Linked DNA regions of Homo sapiens: region 1 is linked to region 2. Evidence: promoter capture Hi-C in human tissues and cell types (Jung and others, 2019). All regions are on one chromosome and are shown on one strand. The core of a region is centred on a gene start or on the middle of the fragment in contact, and the rest is flanking DNA. Distances in the headings are between cores, read along the strand shown.

Evidence for each region. The method cuts DNA at HindIII sites, captures the fragments that hold promoters and counts their contacts. A contact is called where the count stands out against the background at its distance.
Region 1: a contact is called between a fragment that was not itself captured here and the fragment with the promoter of LTN1 in region 2, in 1 of the 25 tissues and cell types used here (spleen).

What each region holds. Positions count from the first base shown.
Region 1 is chr21:29,240,152-29,247,293 of GRCh38, forward strand. All of the region lies in intron 1 of LINC00189 (long intergenic non-protein coding RNA 189), which reads left to right. Among named protein-coding and RNA genes, the nearest start is that of LINC00189, 50 kb to the left of the region's middle. RefSeq lists an enhancer at 5,322-5,371. The HindIII fragment of the contact is 3,034 bases long and covers 1,311-4,344 here.
Region 2 is chr21:28,990,667-28,997,616 of GRCh38, forward strand. It overlaps LTN1 (listerin E3 ubiquitin protein ligase 1), which reads right to left and starts at 2,211. Exons shown (of 30, transcript NM_015565.3): 1 at 2,098-2,211. The coding sequence starts at 2,139. It overlaps LOC105372766 (a long non-coding RNA gene), which reads left to right and starts at 2,437. Exons shown (of 3, transcript XR_007067835.1): 1 at 2,437-2,465; 2 at 2,904-3,015; 3 at 3,116-3,515. It also overlaps the pseudogene RPL23P2. RefSeq lists enhancers at 2,016-2,125, 2,436-2,495. The HindIII fragment of the contact is 9,354 bases long and covers 1-4,285 here.

The DNA of each region.
Region 1 (7,142 bases), core at 1,578-4,077, 250 kb after region 2:
GATGGGATTACAGGTGTGAACCTCTGCCCCCGGCCTTTTGTGGCATTTGTATTGAATGGAATGAATAACTAAGCCAATGAATGAGCAAAATATACAGTCTTGTTCCAGAAAACAAAAGAACAACAAATGCAGACCAGGCAATAGATAGGGGGAATGCCTGCCTGCCCCAGTTTCCCAACCTTCTTTCCTTGGCTTTTCTGCCTTCCATGCTGAGTTACCTCATGGACCTGCAGCTACTGTGCCAGGACTCCTGGTGTTTGCTTTTTCTCTTCCAACTCCAAGCAATGACAATATCAAGTTTTTTACTCCATGTTAGCACTCTTAGAACCCAATATTTTAAAAATTGACTAAAATTCTAAGAGAAAATGTAAAAAGAAAAAAAATTACAACTCCCATTCAAAAGATGAAAAATAACAGCCTACCACTAATTGACATTTTCCTGTACGCCGGACACTGTGCAAGGTTTCTACAGACATGGGAAGAGGGATTACTCTCTCCATTTTGGAGGTGTGGAGATGATATGGTTTGACTGTGTCCCCACCCAAATCTCGTCTTGAATTGTAGCTTCCATAATTCCCACATGTTATGGAAGGGACCCGGTGGGAGTTAATTGAATCCTGGGGGTGATTTCCCTTATACTGTTCTTGTGGTAGTGAATAAGTCTCACGAGATCTGATGGTTTTATAAGGGGAAACCCCTTTTGCTTGGCTCTCATACTCTCCTGCCTGCCGCCATGTAAGATGTGCCTTTCGCCTTCCGCCATGATTGTGAGGCCTCCCCAGCCACGTGGAACTGTGAGTCCATTAAACCTCTTTTTTTTTTTTTTTTTTTTTTAAATAAAGCAACTGGTCTTGGGTATGTCTATCAGCAGGATGAAAATGGACTAATACAGGAGCCGAGGCCTGGAAAGAGTTTTCCTTGTCCTGTGTCCCACTGCTGGTCAGTGGTGAAGCTTGGGATGAGAACAATGGTTATTTCATTCTACAACCCATACTTTGAAAAGCAGGCATTGCTAAGTAAAATAATTCTAGTTTATGCAGAGAAGAGATTGACTTAGCATAAAGTTCCCTCTTTTGAAGACTCAGTGAGCAGCCTTGCAGCTGCTGCTGTGTAGGCCTTTCACAGTCAGGTTGCCTGGATTTTCTGCCCATGCATCTGACAGTAGCTCTTCTCCCAGCCATAGGTTACTTGTTTTCAAAACAAACACAGGCTTTTCTTTATAAGTTTTTTTCTGGTGCTCACCTCTCTCATCCCCTATACCTCTCTTCAACCTAGGCTCTTCCAAAAAGTACATCAAGCAGGTGAAGTTTACACCTCTAACTTCAGAGAAGTGGTTATTGGTACCATAAAAACCCAAAGCATGGCCAGGAACAGTGGCTCACACCTGTAATCCCAGCAATTTGGGAGGTTGAGGTGGGCAGGTCACCTGAGGTCAGGAGTTCGACACTAGCCTGGCAAACATGGTGAAACCCCGTCTCTACTAAAAATGCAAAAATTAGCTGGGCATGGTGGCGGGTGCCTGTAATCTCAGCTACTCGGGAGGCTGAGGCAGGAGAATCACTTAAACCCAGGAGGCAGAGGTTGCAGTGAGCTGAGATGGTGCCATTGCACTCCAGCCTGGGCAACAAGAGCGAAGCTCCATTTCAAAAAACAGACAAAAAACCCAAAGCTTGGCTGGTCTGCCTCATCTTATTTCCCAATATTTTCCACTTAGTTTCCCTATGAATCTCTTAGATCCTTTAGTGTCTTACTTCTACCCCACCAACAAAAGGAGTAGTGTGTATGAATTAGGATTTTACAATATAAATATACATTTACAGTAACATACTTATAATGAGGATGTTTTTCTCTAAAAAGAACTATGCTAACATACTTTATATAATTGCAATGAATTTGTTTTTCACTGTTTATAACTTCTTAAAAAATATACTGGGCATGAGAAGACCTATCCAAAAGCAGGAAAATCTTATTTTAAGTGCTGCAATTGTGTCAGTTATGTCATGAAATCATAAATGGTGGCTATCTGTCAAAATGTGCTATGTTTCCTTAGACATAAGGAAGACAATGAATTTTCAAGATAACTCACTGATGTGTCTTTGTTAAGCTGACATATTTGGAAGAATTCCCAAATAATTTTCATGGTCAGAGAGATTCTCATTTTGCAAGCTACCCCTAAGCAAGAGGCACTGGGGACTTTGCCCAACCAGTAATATTCAGATGAGTTGCAGATTGTTTAAGTAGCTAAATCATGTTAATCCTCTTTCCATGTATGGCAGCATTTATTTAAAATTATTTATTGAATGCATTCTATGTGCCAGGCCCATTTCCAAGTACTGGATATTCCTGGTGAACAAATCCTACACATATTACTACCTTTAGGGAGCTTACACTCTGGCATTAGGCATCAAAACAACACATTCTGGCAAATGAGGCTGGTAACTTTTAAGGATTAAATAGCTTAGAGTTATCAGAGTGTTGACCAGGCATGGTGGCTCATGCCTGTAATCCCAACACTTTGGGAGGCTGAAGTGGGCAGATCAATGGAGGTCTGGAATTTGATACAAGCCTGGCCAACATGGTGAAACCCGGTCTCTATTAAAAATACAAATATTAGCTGGGCGTGGTAGCAGGCACCTGTAATCCCAGCTACTTGGGAGGTTAAGGCAGGAGAATGGCTTGAACCCGGGAGGCAGAGGTTGCAGTGAACTGAGATCTAGCCATTGCTCTCCAGCCTGGGCAATAAGAGTGAAACTCTGTTTCAAAAAAAAAAATTATCAGAGAGTAGATTTATGTATTAAGCATCTTTCAAAAGGCCTTACACAGTTACAGTTTACATTATTAATGTACTACATTTCTTGGCAAATAATTTATTGCTGTTGGTCTTCCAGTCCCCATTCTATAAGATACATATGCAAAGTCAGGAAACAAAGTAAACTTTTCTTAAAACAGTATGTTAGTTATCTTCAAATAATATGCTTTCAGTTGAAGTGGATTTGCTCTAGATTTAAAATAATGGGCCTAATTGCTGATCTAGAAAAAAGTAACTTATAAAACATATTGAGCATCCAAAAATTCTGGCAGCATAGGAAGCTTACTATATTCATTATACTTTTGAAGGGGAATGGAAGTTAAAGAAATGCAGATTATGTTGTTTGAAAATTATCTGAGTCCATTTGTGTTGCTATAAAGGAATATCTGTGACTGGGTAATTTATAAAGAAAAGAGGTTTATTTGGCGCACACTTCTGTAGCCCATACAAGAAGCATGGCACCAACATCTGCATCTGGTGAGGGTCTCAGGCTGCTTTCACTCATGGTGGAAGGTGAAGGGAAGTCAGTGTGTGCAGAAATCATTCAGCAAGAGAAGAAGCAAGAGAGGCAGGAGGTGCCAGGCTCTTTTTAACAATCAGCTCTCACAGGAACTGATAGAGCAAGAACTCACTCATTACCATAAGGATAGCACCAAGCCATTCATGAGAAATTCACCCCTATGGCCTAAACACGTCCCCTTAGGCCTCATCTCCAACACTGGGGATCAAAGCTCAATGTGAGGTTTGGGGAGACAAACACCCAAACCATAGCAAACATATAAGTGACATACTGTTAAAAGATGGATTTATCCTATGTTTCTTTTTCTTTTTTCTTTCTTTTTTTTTTTGAGAAGGAGCCTTACTCTGTTGCCCAGTCTGGAGTGCAGTGGCATGATCTTAGCTCACTGCAACCTCCACCTCCCGGGTTCAAGCAATTCTTCTGCTTCAGCCTCCTGAGTAGCTGAGATTACAGGCGGGCACCACGATGCAGAACTAATTTTTGTATTTTTAGTAGAGATGGGGTTCCACCATGTTGGCCAGGCTGTTCACCCCAGTAACTCTCCCCTTAAACAATTGGCAGTTGTAGGAAGGAGCAAAAGATGCACAACTGTGCAGAGAACAAGGGTAGTATCCCATTACTTGTTATTTAGGATTCCGTGGCATGTACTTATTCTTGAATAATTTACTCAAAAAAAAATGGGAAGCTTCCACATCTTGGCGATTATATATAGTGCAGCAGGAACATGGGAATGTGGATATCCCCTCCATAAACTGACTTCCTTTCTTTTGGGTATATACCTAGCAGTGGGATTGCTGGATCGTGTTGTAGTTCTATTTTTAATTGTTTGTGGAGCATCCATACTATTCTCATAGTGGCTGTGGAGAATAATTTACATTCTAATTTAGTACTAATTTATATTCCCACCAACAGCATGCAAGGGTTCCTTTTTCTCCACTTGAATAAGATCTAATATTTAATAGCACAACAGGGTGATTACAGCCAACAACAATTTATTGCACATTTAAAAATAACTAAAAGAGTATAAACGAAATGTTTGTAACACAAATAAATGATAAATGCTTGAGGTGATGGATACTCGGTTTACCCTAATGTGATTATTACACATTGTATGCCTGTATCAAAATATCTCATGTACCCCATAAATATGTACATCTACTATGTACCCATAATTTTTTTAAGTAAGCACTTTCAGAAAGGATGCTTCTCAGAACTCACAAACATTGCATTTTTATACTTTCATAGTTGAAAAATATAAATCAGTTTTGTTAAAGGTGGTGCATTAGAGAGTAGGAAGATGAGGCCCGGAAGATCTCGTGTATTTTAACATGTTGTTCTCAGGAAGCTTCATATGGATATCTGTAAATTTTAAGAAGCCACCCTAGGATACCCCAAAATAAGTCTGTGGTCACGCACTGCTCACAAACAGAGCGTAAGGCAGAGGGCACTGTTTCGATGCATCCTCTATCCAGCTGGAAAGCCAGAAATATTATTTTCGTAGTCAAATGATTAAAATAGTAATGGTTTATTTACTCTCCCCAAGTGTAGTTGGGAAATACATGAGGTTAAAATTCAGGCATCTGAGTTTCTGTTTCTCCTCCTCCAACTATGAAGGTAAGTTGGTCTCTCCCTGTGCCCATTGTGGCAAGTGTCTGCCCAGGCCCTTGACCAGAGAGACAGGAAGCAATGATGACAGAGCCAGGCAAGCCCAGACCTCACATGAGCCTCCTCTGTAATTTTGGATAGTTCTGGAAACTGGACCATCAGCCTTAATGGCCTATGCTGGGAATCCTGTGCACACCAGGCCACATTTCTCAGCAGCTTGCCTGTGCCGTGCCCCTAAAAAGAACAGCTCAGACCTGCTCTGCAGGGGCATTTATCTTGTCAGCTGAAGAGGGTGAGCTCATTTTAGGCACGTTGCTGTAAACAACTGAAAGATCCACTCTCCTAAGCATAGACCTGACTCAACTATGTCTCTGCAAATGGTCTCCCTTTTGCAACACAACTGCACCGAGAAGCTACACACTTTCACCTTCCAGCAGATCTTGGTCAGATACATTGCAGTGAACTTCCCACTCTCTTCCCACTCCTTTCAAACTCAGTCACTGAAACCACAACCACCCCACCACTGTAACAACAGAACCAATTTCAATAGTTTGAGGCCATTCCCAAGCTCTATCTCTCAGGCTAGAACAAATGAACAAGCTCCTTGTGCCATCAGCATTAATATTTGTGGTGTCAAGTGGGCATTGTATAGATTTTCCCCACTATCTACACATCAGACTGTGAGGTGGGTAGAAGGGCATGATGGCCATTTCACAGATAAGAAAGCCAAGTTAAAATTAGTTGCACAAAGTTATAGCTTACAGCGACAGAATTGGCCCATGAATTCATTACCCTTTCATTCCACTACAGTATCAGTCAAATTTTAAAAACAAGCCCAAAAATATATTTCCATATATGTTTTATTTTCATCCTAGGATTTTGAGCTGTCTTGTTAATATTAATTTATTTAAATTTCATAGGAAGAATACTATTGAAGTTTCTATTACTACTTCTGAGTGACTGTATGCTAAAAGGGAATGATATGACTTGCAAATATGTTTTGAGGAATGTTCTATGAATATGCCTAAAATTCATGGTTTCTACCCAATTAAAATTTTGTATTCATGTGAAATAGTTTAAGAAAGAGAAAATATACCACATATTTTTATTTGATGATTTTTAACAATTATGAAGAAAAAATTGATGAGAAAAAGTACAGACTATACTCTTAGATTTTTTTCTTTTTCTTTTGTTTGTCCTGTTTTGTTTTGAGACAGGGTGTTGCTCTGTCTCCCAGGCTGTAGTGCCATCATGGTTCATTGCATGCAGCCTTGACCTCCTGGGGTCAAGTGATCCTTCCGCCACAGCCTTCCGAGTAGCTGGGACTACAGGTGCATGCCACCATGCCTGGCTAATTTTTATTTTTATTTTTATTTTTGTAGAAGCAGGGTCTCACTATGTTGACCAGGCTGGTCTCTAACTCCTGAGATTACAGGCAGGAGCCACCACGACCAGCCCAGACTATAATCTTAAATACATTTTTCAAATATGTGTTAAGAACTAGTTGTGCGCAGGCTACTTTGCTAAAGAGTATCTGTTCATTGGAATGTTCAGTTTTGAGAAAATAATTATTTTATAGGCTTATCAATGGCCATTATCTTGAGTAAACTAAAATATTTACATTAATGATCTTGAGAGGAGATTGACAACAAAGAGCCAGGTTATAGAGCAATCTTCTCTTGAGCCTGGATTTGTTCGGATGAATGATTACATAATGATGTCCAGTGGGAATCGCAGGATGTGACAGCTGTTTGACAGCCTGTCAATTTTACAAATGAAGCAACTGAAGCCAAGTGAAGTTATGTCTTGCTCAAGCTTCTAAGGATAAGCTGAGTCTGAAACCTAGATTTTCTTTTATTTTTCTTTATTTTAATTTTTATAGATTTAGGAGACACAAGTGCAATTATGTCACATCAATATAGTGTATGGTGGTGAAGTCTGAGCTTTTAGTGTAACCATCACCTGAATTGTGTACATTGTACCCATTAAGTAATTTTCATCCGTCACCCCCTTCCCACCCTTCCACCTTTCTGAGTCTGCAGTGTCTACTCTTCTATTCTTTATGTCCACGTACGCACATCATTTAGGCCCCACTTATAAGTGAGAACATGCAGTATTTGACTTTCTGAGTTATTTCACTTAAGATAATAGACTCTAGTTCCATCCATGTTGCTGCAAAAGACTTGATTTCATTCTTTTTTATGGCTG
Region 2 (6,950 bases), core at 961-3,460:
CTGGTGTGTGATGCACTGAGAAAGACTCATCATCTATGAAGAATTCCTTCTAAAAATTGTTTAGCCTGAATCTAATCATAAGGAAAAAACTAGATGAATCTGAATTAATCAAACAAATGGCCCAGGCTCTTCCAAATTTTGTTAAAAAAGACACTCCTCTCCCCGCTTAAACAGTACTGAGAAACTGTCTAGATCAAAGAAACCCAAATGGTAACTAAATGGAATGAGTGATCCTTGACTGAATCTCAGATGTTAAAACGGTTTATCTTTTTAAAAAAGTCCCAGCCTGGGCAACATGGCAAAACTCTGTCCCTACAAAAATAAGCTAGCCGTGATGGCCTGTACCTGTAGTCCTAGCTACTGGAAAGGCTAAGCTGGGAGGATCACTTGAACCCGAGAGGCGGAGATTGCAGTGAGCCAAGTTCACGCCTCTGCACTCCAGCCTGGGTAACAGAGCCAGACTCTGTCCCCGAAAAAAAAAAAAAAAAGATTAGCCAGGAGTCCTAGCTACTAAGGAGGCTGAGGTGGGAGGACTGACCGCTTGAGCCCAAGAGGTTGACACTGCAGTGGGCCATGATCATACCACCACACTCCAGGTTTGGAGACAGAGCGACCCTGTCTTACAAAAAAAAAAAAAAGAAAAAAGAGAACATTATTGGGATAACTACAGAAGTCTAAATACAAGGCTGTATCCTGGATTACAGTATTATACAAAAGTCAAAGTTTCTGCATACTATAACCATTATTATAATTGCTGCAGGCTAGAAAATGGCATTGTTTTTAGAAGATACATGCTGATGTATTTAGGAGTTAAGAGTCCCGACTTCTGCAACTAACTCTTATAAGTTCAGAAAAATACATAAATTAAGAGAGAGAAAGCAAATGCAACCAAGTATTAGCAATTGGTAAATGTAGGTAAAGAGTATATGGGATGTCGTTCTAATATTCTTGCAACTTTTCCTCATAAGAACTTTTCAAATATAAAACATTTGAGAAAATCTGTTAAATAAAAAACATTAAAAGATGCAAGTAAAGTGCTTAGCACAGTAACACAACAGGTTGCTATAATTGTTAATACTGTTATTATCTTCCAAAACAGATTAAGTGACAGATCTAAGAAAATGTGACATTGAAATCACTAGAATTAACTACATCAGAAACAGGAAAAAAAAGCATTCTCATAAAATTGGACTGTGCTATAATAAATCTAACACCATAAAAAAATACCATTACAAAACCCCTCATCGTGTAGTTTTACACGAATCCACTTTAAGGTCGTCCTTAAGCAAGTACTTAGTGAGCGTCTATTAGGTGCCAGTCTGTTCTAGGTTCCGAGGATAAAAACATTTGCTTTCAAAATACTTACGTCCTAGTGAACCAAGACAATAAATGTCATAAATACAATGGAGTAAAATAAAGTAGGAAGAACATGGGAGTGGGGAAGGGCTACCAAGAGGGTGATCATGGGAGACCTCACTGAGGTGTCGAGAGCAAAGTTTGGAGCCACCTAACTGAAGAGCGTTGGGAGCCGGCCAGGTAGTCAAGGCACAGTGAAGAGATCAGTGTGGCTGGATGAAGTAAGCCAAGAGGAGGGAGCTGAAGATGGGACTGCAGATGGAAAGGGGTAACAGGCAGTCCAGAAACCAAATATACCATCCTAAGAGCTTTAGCTTAGGAGAAGCCACTGTAGGTAGCAAAGGAGAGGCACAATCTGCGGTAACCTCCACAGTGGATTCACTTTAACATTCTCCCAACTCTCCTTCTTCCCAGCGCCGCCCTCCCCCAACCAACCCGCTACCTCGGCCAGATCACCTTCCAGTGAACCTGACACATTATCATTTCTTCATGAATATTATGGGTGTGTGCTCGGATGAGGACAGCTCTGGCATGGTACATCTTTTCTCTCACGATTCCCCAATCTGCTCAGAGATAACACAAACCGCTCTCAGGGACGCACACACAACAGAGAGGTCACACTCGACAGGGAAACACACGCCTCCCTACAGCCGCGCTCCACACACCCTCCAGCAACGCGCTGGGCGGAGCCAGCCGCCTCGAAGCGAGGCTCCCGGGTCGGCCGAGCCAGCCCCCGCTCACCCTCAGGTTCCCTTTAGTTCGCTGCTTGTTCTTCCCGCCCATGGTCGCGGTTGCAGCTGTACTCTGAGCACTCAGACCCCGGTTGACACGTCCGGGACACAACTTCCGGCTTCTGGCGGCGGAAGAGGACACCCTGTAATAACTTCCCCCGGGCCCTTTTCCGCCACCCACCCTGTCCATTTGCTGCCCCACTTCCGCTCCCGCCTCCCGCTGTGTCCCTGACCATCCGCCACCGGAGACGTCACAGCTAAAGCCACGCCTGTCTGAGTGATGTCATTCCTGGCCAATAGGAAGCCAAGCATTGGACCCGTGGCGCCAAATCCTGTCCTCCCCGCTTTCAGAAGCTAGGTTTGTTCCTTGCTTAGAGGGTAGGAAACTGGCGTGAATCATCAGAGGGGCAGTTTCACATAAGGGTAGCATTAGAATGTTATGGTAGAGGCTGTGGGAAGATGGGAGTGTTTTAGACTTCCAACATGATGCAATCATCAGTATCACCTGGGCGTTTTTTAGAAAAGGCCAACTCGGGCCCCTCAGAACTCCTGAATCAGATCCTGCATTTTGACAGTATTCCCAAGTCTTGTTAAAATTTGATTACTGCTGTAGGCACTATTCTCTCTAAATCTCCCCTCCCCGTCCCCTTTTATTCATATTGAAACTGTTAACGTGCAGTTTAGGAAAGAGGATAATGTGGGAGTCCCTATTAAAATTTGAAATGTACAAATCCTGTAACCCATTGATTGTGCGACTCAGAATCACACCAGAGAAACAAGTAAATGTGTGCTGGTTATTGTTTCTTGTCCACGCAGTCACCCTTTTATACTCAACTCCATGTTACTGGGGGGGCTTCTGCTAGATTCCACCAACAGGACGAACAAGAGGGAAACAAAGGCAAGAGGAAGAAGGGACTTGCTCCATTCTGTAAGCATCATGCCAGCAGCAGCTGCATTTTACCGTGGCAGGAGCAATTGCTTTAGCCAAAAGGTGGTTTTAATCTCTATCCTTTTTCCAACAATCACAGAATCAGCCTTATTGCACCCCTCAGAGATCACAGCAGCAGTCAGTGCTCTCCTCAGAGATCTGAATTCTACTTTCATGCGGCCCCTCCCCTGAGCTCCTGAGATAGCCAATGTTTGAGCCACCTCCTCAGAAGTTTGAGCCTCAACACCGTGGGATCCCTTCTTTGTGCTCCAGAGATCCAGTAACAGCCAGCCATCACCCTCTCTTCATTCTTCATAGGCCTGAACTAAGGTGTTCAGGGCCCTCCTTCAAGCTTTTAGGTTCTGATGACTCCAACCACTTCTTTTGTTCCATCCTTTCCTAGCTCTAGGAATGGTAGCTGCTACCTGCAGTGATTACCTGTTACCTTTTATAATTCCTTTTGACCAATTTCCCATATTAAAATATTTCTCAATAACTAATGTGATTTCTGTTTTCCTGACTGGACCCTGATTTTAAAATGCACACAAAAGCCAGGTGCAGTGGCTTATGCCTGTAATCCCACCACTGTGGGAGGCCGAGGCAGGTGGATCACCTGAAGTCAGGAGTTCGAGACCAGCCTGGCCAACATGGCAAAAACCCATCGCTACTAAAAATACGAAAATTAGCTGGGCAGTGGTGGCAGGTGCCTGCAATCCCAGCTACTTGGAAGGCTGAGGCACGAGAATCTCTTGAACCCGGGAGGCGAAGGTTGCAGTAAGCCAAGATCATGCCACTGCACTCCAGCCTGGGTGACAGAGCAGACTGTCTCAGAAAAAAGTCACACAAAGAGACATATTACAGGAGGTTCACAAAAACTTTATAATAGAAAGATAATTGTAAGCAACCTATGTCTATATATTGGAGAACTGCTAAATAAATTATATGTATTCAATAAGCTATTAGGCAACATTTAAGAAGAATAAGGTTTATCTGAACACACATAGGAAGAATTCTAAGACACATTCTTAAATAAAAAGCAAATACCAATATATACAGTATGATACCATTTGTGTTTTTAAAACCCACAACACAATAATATATATATATATATATTTATGCATATATATATAATATAAATACAGAGAATAGGCCGGGTGCGGTGGCTCACGCCTGTAATCCCAACACTTGGGGAGGCCGAGGTGGGTGGATTGCTTGAGGTCAGGAGTTTGAGACAAGCCTGACCAACATGGTGAAACGCCGTTGCTACTAAAATACAAAAATTAGCTGGGCATGGTGGCAGGCAGCCGTAATCCCAGCTACTAGGGAGGCTGAGGCAGGAGAATTGCTTGAACCCAGGAGGTGGAGGTTGCAGTGAGCCAAGATCGCGCCTCTGCACTTCAGCCTGGGTGACAAAGTGAGACTCCGTCTCAAAAAAAAATAATAATAAAATAAAGATCTGCAAGAATACATACCAGTCTGATCATTGTAGTGACTTTTTGTGGGAAAAAGTGGCAAGAAAAGACATTAGGGTTAAGAGTTATAGTCAAAGGAAATTAAGCCTTATCTGTAAGATTTTATTTTATACAAGGACAACATCTTCATGTATTAATTATGTAATTAAAAATCAACTCAGGCTGGGTGCAGTGACCGATGCCTATAATCCCAGCACTTTGGGAAGCCAAGGTGGGTGGATCACCTGAGATCAGGAATTCAAGACCAGCCTGGCCACGATGGTGAAACCTCGTCTCTACCAAAAATACAAAAACTAGCTAGGCACGGTGGCACGCACCTGTAACCCCAGCTATGTGGGAGGCTGAGGCAGGAGAATTGCTTGAACCCAGGAGGCAGAGGTTGCAGTGAGCCAAGATCGCGCCACTGCACCCCAGCCTGGGCAACAGAACAAGACTCCGTCTCAAAAAAAAAAAAAAAAAATCAACTCAACAAATATTGTTTGTTTAAAATAAATCATTGGTTACATATATCATGGTACATTGGTTATACAAATTGTAGTGTCCTCATTCTTGAGAGTTATACAATATAGCTGCAAACAGTTTAACACATTGGAAACACTACTAGATATCATGCCATTCACTGAAAATGTGGGTGTCACATATCAAAAATGCTACAGAAGGGGAAGATTAACATGTGCTTGAGTAGTCAGATAGGCTTTCCAAGCCAAAGCCCAAAGCTTGGAAAACATTAGGAAAAGTAAAATAAAAGGGAGAACATTCAAAATGGGGACGAGAGAGGGACAGAGACAGTGAGTTGGATTAGCATGGATTTCGGAAAGGACAGTCAAGAATCTAGCCTAACTTCAGTGCAGACTTACCCAGGGGGAAAAAAAAAAAAAAAACTTGAAGGACAAGACTGGAATGATTTTCTGTGCTCCTATTTACTAATTGTTTCCTAAATTTTGTCTGTTCTTGCTGGAAATATCTCTTCATTTCATTTCCTTGTATTCTGACGAGACTTTCCACCTTTTGCAACAGGGATCCATGCCTCTTGCCATGTTCCTCAACTACTCCAGGCCACACAGATCTCTCTTCGATTTTCCTAGGACATCAACTTATAACTGGTTTATTTTTTTACCCAGAAGTCAGTAGGATATTACTGCTTTGGGAACTTGAAAATAGTCTCATTGATTTAACAGTTTCTCATGTTTAGATTTTCCAGCAAGTCTGTAAATCCTTTGAAGGTGAGGCTATCTCCATGGTACTCTTAAACAGTGCCTGCCAAAGTAGATACCCGCAAATTTGTTTTAATTGATTCATACAAGGTTTTAGAAATCAGAAAATAATTGTTTCTATCAATACAGTAGGTGATAGGCAGAAAAGGTTTGGACAGAAGAACATTAAAAATAATGTTTAATTTTTGTCAAAATGTTAATGTTTATGTCAAGAAATGTCGGCTGGGTGCAGTGGCTCACGCCTGTAATCCCAATGCTTTGGGAGGCCAAGCCAGGAGGATTACCTCAAGTCAGGAGCTCGAGACCAGCCTGGCCAACATGGTGAAAACTTGTCTCTACCAAAAATACAAAAATTAGCCAGGCGTGGTGGTGCGTGCCTGTAATCCTACATACTCAGGAGTCTGAGACAGGAGAATCACTTGAACCCACGATGCAGAGGTTGCACTGAGCTGAGGTCACACCACTGCACTCCAGCCTGGGCAACAGAGCAAGACTCTGTCTCAAAAGAAAAAAAGAAAAAAGAAATGTCAATACTTTTAAGGCCAAGATTAGAAACTCTTCAGAAACCAGGTTGGGAGTTAAAAAAAAAAAAAAAAAGAGACTTGAAACCCTCCCTTCTTCATTCATAATTATTAATATTATAAATTCTTGTTTTCACAGATTAAGAGTTACACATCAGAATTATAGCCTTTTTTCCCTAAGTAAATATTGGGCATGCCTTACAGAAGTCTGATGTTAAAATAATCTTACCCATCCAGACAAGTTTCTGAGGAGGAAAATCAGACATCAAGCACTTAAAAATATATTTCGGCTGGGCCAGGTGGCTCACACCTGTAATCCCAGCACTTTGGGAGGCCGAGGCGGGTGAATCATGAGGTCAGGAGATCTAGACCATCCTGGCTAACATGGTGAAACCCCATCTCTACTAAAAATACAAAAAATTAGCTGGACATGGTAGTGGGCGCCTGTAGTCCCAGCTACTTGGGAGACTGAGGCAGGAGAATGGCATGAACCCAGGAGGCAGACCTTGCAGTGAGCCGAGATCGTGCCACTGCACTCTAGCCTGGGCAACAGAGCGAGACTCCGTCTCAAAACAAAACAAAACAACTCAGCATTAATTAATCTTTATTAAACTTGGTGGTACTTTACCTTCAACTGTTATTAAGATGTATTTTTTTGGGGGGGGGTACAAATACTTTTTAATGGGTTTAAAGTTTTTCTTTTTCTTTTTAATCTACTGGAAAATCAT